2 separate regions of the Homo sapiens genome follow, and region 1 is linked to region 2. The links are contacts of gene promoters, found by promoter capture Hi-C in blood cells and fetal thymus (Javierre and others, 2016). All regions are on one chromosome and are shown on one strand. Each heading gives the region's core, a stretch centred on a gene start or on the middle of the fragment in contact. The rest is flanking DNA. Distances are from core to core; before and after follow the strand shown. Region 1 overlaps GUCY1A1 (guanylate cyclase 1 soluble subunit alpha 1). Region 2 holds the start of GUCY1B1 (guanylate cyclase 1 soluble subunit beta 1).

Region 1 (2,924 bases), core at 25-2,524, 54 kb after region 2:
TGCAGTCTGGGACCAGCTAGTCAGCAAGGAAAATCAAGCACATATGATCCACAGAGCAGATGATCACTCATGAGTAGGAGACAGATGAATGAATTGTTAAAACATTCCTGACAATAGTGCTGGTTTGTAAAACTCCAATGTTCAGTTCTGCAAATTTCAACACCAGTATTTATTCTATTATTTATAGACCAAATAAACCTTGAAATTTCAGGGAATCAAAAACGGGGCCTATTACTTTTTTTTTTTTTTTTTTTTGAGATGGAGTCTCACTCTGTCGCCCAGGCTGGAGTGCAGTGGCACAATCTTGGCTCACTGCAACCTCTGTCTCCTGGGTTCAGGCCATTCTCCTGCCTGATTAGCTGGGATTACAGGCATCTGCCACCATGCCTGGCTAATTTTTGTGTTTTTAGTAGAGACGGGGTTTCGCCATGTTGGCCAGTCTGGTCTCGAACTCCTGACCGCAGGTGATCTGTCTACCTTGACCTCCCAAAGGGCTGGGATTTGCCACCGTGCCTGGCCCCTATTACATTTTCTGTCAGCAGTAAATGTGCTAAATTGTATTTGATTCACTAAATAAATCAGATTTAAAAAATGTAACTTTAGAGACAAGGCGCAGTGGCGCATGCCTGTAATCCTAGCAGTTTTGGAGGCCAACGCGGGTGAATGCTTGAGCTCATGAGTTTGAGACCAGCCTGAGCAACACGGTGAAACCCCATCTCTACAAAACAAAAACCAAAACAAAAATTAGGTGAGCATGGTGGCACATGCCTGTAGTCCCAGCTGCTCGAGAGGTTGATGTGGGAAAATGGCTTGAGCCAGGGAGGCAGAGGTTGTAGTGAGCCAAGATTGCACTGCACTCCAGCCTAGGCGACAGAGCAAGACCCTGTCTCAAAAAAATAAAAATAAATTTTAAAAAAGTAACTTTAGGTCCATGCCCTTAATCTCAGTTTTTTGGGAGGCTGAGGCAGAAGGATGGCCTGAGCCCAGGAGTTCTGGGCAGCAGTGAGCTATGATCACACCACTGCATTCAGCCTGGATGACAGAGTGAGACCCTGTTTCTAAAAAAAAAATAAAAAATAAAAAGTAACTTTATATTAAGCCTCTTCAGAAATGCTTTAAAGGAAAATTTCAAAGAATACTAGAAAAAAAGTATAAACAAACTGATGTTCTGCAGTGCAACCAAACTAGTTAGGAGAATACAGAAACACTTCCCTAAGGATTAATAAACAGCTGCTACCCCCCGGAACCCTGAGTCCCCCTCCTCTTAAGCACTTGATCCTTCTACCTCCTCCTGATGCAGATACTAAAGTATTAACATGTTGTTGAGATGTGTGTTGGGGATGGGGTACCTGCTGGGACCCTGCTCAAAACTTTGGCAGCATCCTTCAGGCAGGAAGTCTTGATTGTTTGGGATCCATGACTTACCTGTTGTTAAATATTTTAGAAGTTACCAATTAGTACAAAAGAATCGGCCTTACAGGAGCTTGTTAAAGCAGCAGTTTATAACTACATGCTTAAAATAATGGCTCTGAAAAACCCAGGCTCGAACCCCAGCTCTGTCTTTTCCTTAAACGGCTATAAAATTCTAAATACTTCATATAAACCTGAGTTTAATCATTTATAAAATGTGATAAATAGATGCACTTACTTTGAAATTAGTATCAGCTAAAGTACTAAGTCCAGTTTCTGACATACCACAATGATTCAATAAAGGGCTGACACATTCAGTAACTGCTGGCCATTAGTAGCAGTATTAGTCATTGTAATAAGAGGTTCACACAACTAAAGTGGTTTGACTTACCTGCTTTCTTTTATTTTGTGCTTTGCCAATGTTCTCTGAAGTGCAACATTCAGCCGTTCAAACTGAAAGTTCAAAAGAAATGTTTTAAACATTCCCTTATATAATAATTTGTTTGGAATTATATATTTAAAAATGCATCCTGAAGATTTATTTTCGAGAATAAAGCACATTATACAATTGCTTGAATGATAAATGTTATGAATTTTCACTTTGGAAACTGGAAGTGATTTTCTATGTGTTTTTCAAACTGGAGAGGAAGCAATGTGCTGAGACTAATCTGAGATTGGATATGTGTTGTGGCCCACAGGTTTAGCCTTTGGTGGTGGTCTCACTGACAGCCACAGAATAGTTGAGCTGAGTGTGAACCCAAACAGAAGATTTCAGTTTGGTAGTGTTAGGTCTTCTGCAATATAGGATTCCATGGGCATCACTTCCTCTGAGTCAGGAAATCCCTCTGGACGGGCGGCCAATACTTCAATCTCAGCATGGACCAAGCCAAGCAAATTTCTGTTCCTTTCACAAACTCCACACCCAGCTGCCCCAGTGACTCTCTGCCCTTAACTATACATTCATATCATCTTCTTGTCTAGCAAACTCTGGAGTTATCTCTGTCTCTTCCTTTTTTGATCTCTTAAATCTAATCTGTCACCAAAGTTAGTTGATCATTTATTTGAAATGAGCCTTGGGTTTACCTTGGCTTACACTGATTTCCTTTCTTTGAACTAATAATCCTCATCAAATACTTATGGTTTTATTTTCTTTTATTGATTTCTGAGAATTTCATGAGTTTCCTTATTTTGCAAGACATTTGTATGTAAGCTTTTATACTTAATAAATACATGTTGAGTAGCTATTAATTTATCTTAACAGCTGATTGTCTCTAATAAATAAGTGGAAAGTAGAGCATTGATAAGCAGTGTTGTCCATTTTTATATATTCCATGTAAAAATCATATGTATCTATGTATGTACCTCCCTCTCACTATATATGTGTGTATATATAGAGATATATATAAAACTATATATTATATATATAGAACCATTGATTCTTTCTATAGTTTCCCCAGAGGAAAGTGAAAAATTTTTTGCTGTCCCAAGTTAAGAAATTCCTTTTTCCTTAAAAA
Region 2 (2,964 bases), core at 346-2,845:
AACCTGCCTGCAGACATGCTGACCCATCAGTCATTCCAACAGGTTTAAACTCTCAGGTGGGTGTGGTATTTCCGTTCACATCCCCAGTACTGGGCTCAAAGCTCCAGGACTGAAAGTAGAATGCCTCCTAGAACTGTTAAGTCTTCAACACAGTAGAAAAAAACGGGGGATAGGGGTTGGGGCGGGGGGGGTGGGCAGTGGGATTTGGGGAAAACAAAAAACTTCCAATTTTCACTTTATTTAAAAATGAATAAATGCGCTTAATTCACTGTTGCTCAAGAAATAATCTCCCGCGTGTTTCAGCATACCAAAAAGGCCTAACTTACGCCAGGTGTGTAAATCATAAAGGAGCCAAAGTCTTCCGTTTGTTTCTAAGGCCTCCGGGCGCAGGAACCTCGCGGAGGCCCGTGTGGTCCCTCGGGGCTCTGCACGCGTGGGAGCTGCCCGGCCTGCTGAGCCTGGGAGCGCCGGCAGCGCGTTCCCACGCTCAGGCCGGGTCGGGAAGCCGTGGTGACCCCTAGGGGCTCCTTTCCGCGGTTCTCGCCCTCGCAGCCCCGCCCCAGCCGCCCCTCCCCTCCTGGTTCCAGTCCCGGAGCGTGGGAGCGCAGCTGCAGCGAGCCGGGAGCGAGGCGCGGAGGCACCTCCAAGGATGCGCGCCCGCGACCCGGCCAGCAGGCTGAGGACCAGGCGAGGCGCGGGGGGCCTCCCACACTGGGCGCCGACCTGGGCCACAGCCAGGGTAGCCGGCCACTTACTTGATGTCTTCCCACACCTCGGGGCCGTAATTGCGGATCACCAGCAACTCCAGGGCGTGATTCACAAATCCGTACTGCGGGGACAGGGAGAGACTTGAGCGTCAGGGACCCGCTGTACCTGAGAAGCGGCTTGGGGGCGAGGCTGCTGCCTCTGCTCCCATGGCGCTGGCTTAACCTTTCACCCCGCCCCTGACTCCTCTCCCTTAGGGGTACTATGCACTAAAGGAGTCGGATCGTGGGGGCGCAACCCCCCAATCCCTGGTGGATTCTCCCCGTCACCATCCGCCCCACCCCCACGCTATCTTCCCACCCTCCTCACCTGTCACCGCTCCGGGAGAGGCTGGGCATCGGGGGCAGCGCGGGGACGCGAACCCGGAGCCTTCCCTTCCGCTGGCGCTCAGCCTCCCACACTGGTGGGGCCGGCCAGAGCCGGGAAGACCCCACGCCTCCGCCGCACCTCCCCTTCCCGAGCTCAGGAAGCTGCGGTGTGGAGCGGCAAACCCGCCTGGGAAGCAAAGGCACCGATCGCCCCCGCCACGACTCGCGGCGTTCCCACCTCCCCTGACTGGGCGCGGGCAAGGAGTGAGGCTGCTCCCGTGGCCGGCAGTGAGCGCCCAGGGCCCCCGAGCCAAGCTCCGGCTGCGCGGCCAGTTCCCTCGCTGCCAGGCCGGCCGAGGAGGGGTGAGGTTCGGGCCGCACCCGGCTGAGAGCACTTACCATGGTGTCTGCACCGGGAGCCGGGGAGGCAGCCCCCACGCAGAGGTACGGCCGAAGGGACCCAGGCAGAGGCGGCAGCGGCTACAGCGCAACCGGGCCGGGGAGGCAGCATCGAGCTGGAGCGAGAACAGCCGCCTTGGCCCGCCCTGATTGCCACCTCTTCCCAGCCAATGGCGAGTCGAGCCGCAGGGGGCTGGTCGGTGCTCCCCAGTTCTTCAACCAATCAGGGACAGAGGAGGGAATTCGGATGCTCTCAATGCTGCTGCGCTCCAGTGCCTTCCCGCCCCCGCCTGGTGACAAGGCCTTCATTTGAGGCCATAACAATGACAGTGGAGAAGCCCCAGCCGTGCTCCTTGCATGAATTCTGGAGCAGAGGAAATGCAGCTCTTGTGGACCCACTAAATGTATTATTATTCAGAGATCTGCCCTCAGTGGTTAACACAAGCAAAAGGGAACAGGGCGTGTTTGTTGTGTGAGCGTGTACGTGTGTACTTTGCAATGGACAGACCTTAAAAGGAATATCCTCTGTTGCTGGCATCCTCATGCTTATCTTTGTCTAGCGGAAAAACATTTCCTCTGTGGCTTGGTCCCACAACAGTTTATGGCAAATTTAAAGCTGGTAATATTGAGAAAAACATATTTTCACTTCTAGTCAATGAGACTAGTTGAGTGAAGCACCAAAAATTTTCAGTAATGTAGTTTGGTGGACGTTATGTTAAATCCAGTCCTGCCCTTTACTAAACTGTACAAGATCCAGCGATATTCTAGGCTTGATCCCTGTGGGACACCTTTCCCTACACCATGTCCGGGAGCCATAATTCCAGGGAGTTTGTAACCCTCTAGAGCGGGCCTCTGTTGCTGTTTCTTAGCAACAGACGAACTGGAAAATGACCAGTACAAAATGCACAGACTTTAACTACTCTACCTCCAGCTTACATTCTACCAGGCCCTTAGGTTAGTTAATGCTCTGAGTCCTGCCATAGAGAGAAGATGAGAGGAACAGGAAGTGGCAGCTTATTAAAGCTGTTTGTACCTGAGGTATATGGACTCCAGTTGACTTTTAGGGCAAGGTCAAAAGTGAGGTCACCAGTCTCAAGTGGACCTGAGAAGCCAGATGGTATTTTAAGATGTGCATATTTTGTTGTGAGAACAGTCTCAATATGGTTAGAGAAAAATGTCAAAACAATAAGATTGTGCTGACATCAGCACCGAGAGAGCTATGATGAAGGAAACTGATACAGAAATAGTGGCATGTAGCAAACAAACAAAACAACAAATTACTTTAAAAATTTCCATTATTGGTGGAATGAGTAAATAGATTACAGCCTTTCATACAATCTAACACCTTGTTTTAAACAACTATTAAAACATTAATCATTATTTAACAACAATTAACCACTAATTTTGAACCATTAAAATGGCACATTAAACAACCATGAAAAAGCAGGAGGGTGACTAGAAAATGATGATGCAGAAAAGTATTGTCAGGTTT

What was found. The method cuts DNA at HindIII sites, captures the fragments that hold promoters and counts their contacts. A CHiCAGO score of 5 or more calls a contact.
Region 1: a fragment that was not itself captured here is called in contact with the fragment with the promoter of GUCY1B1 in region 2 in 1 of 17 cell types (megakaryocytes); the score reaches 5.1 in megakaryocytes.

What each region holds. Positions count from the first base shown.
Region 1 is chr4:155,702,871-155,705,794 of GRCh38, reverse strand. GUCY1A1 (guanylate cyclase 1 soluble subunit alpha 1) reads right to left here. Exons shown (of 10, transcript NM_001130682.3): 4 at 1,802-1,863. Among named protein-coding and RNA genes, the nearest start is that of GUCY1A1, 37 kb to the right of the region's middle. The HindIII fragment of the contact is 2,697 bases long and covers 1-2,622 here.
Region 2 is chr4:155,757,652-155,760,615 of GRCh38, reverse strand. It overlaps GUCY1B1 (guanylate cyclase 1 soluble subunit beta 1), which reads right to left and starts at 1,595. Exons shown (of 14, transcript NM_000857.5): 1 at 1,473-1,595; 2 at 756-829. The coding sequence starts at 1,475. LOC105377506 (a long non-coding RNA gene) reads left to right here and starts at 2,201. Exons shown (of 8, transcript XR_007058484.1): 1 at 2,201-2,426. RefSeq lists silencers at 548-817, 1,268-1,417. The HindIII fragment of the contact is 7,462 bases long and covers 1-2,964 here.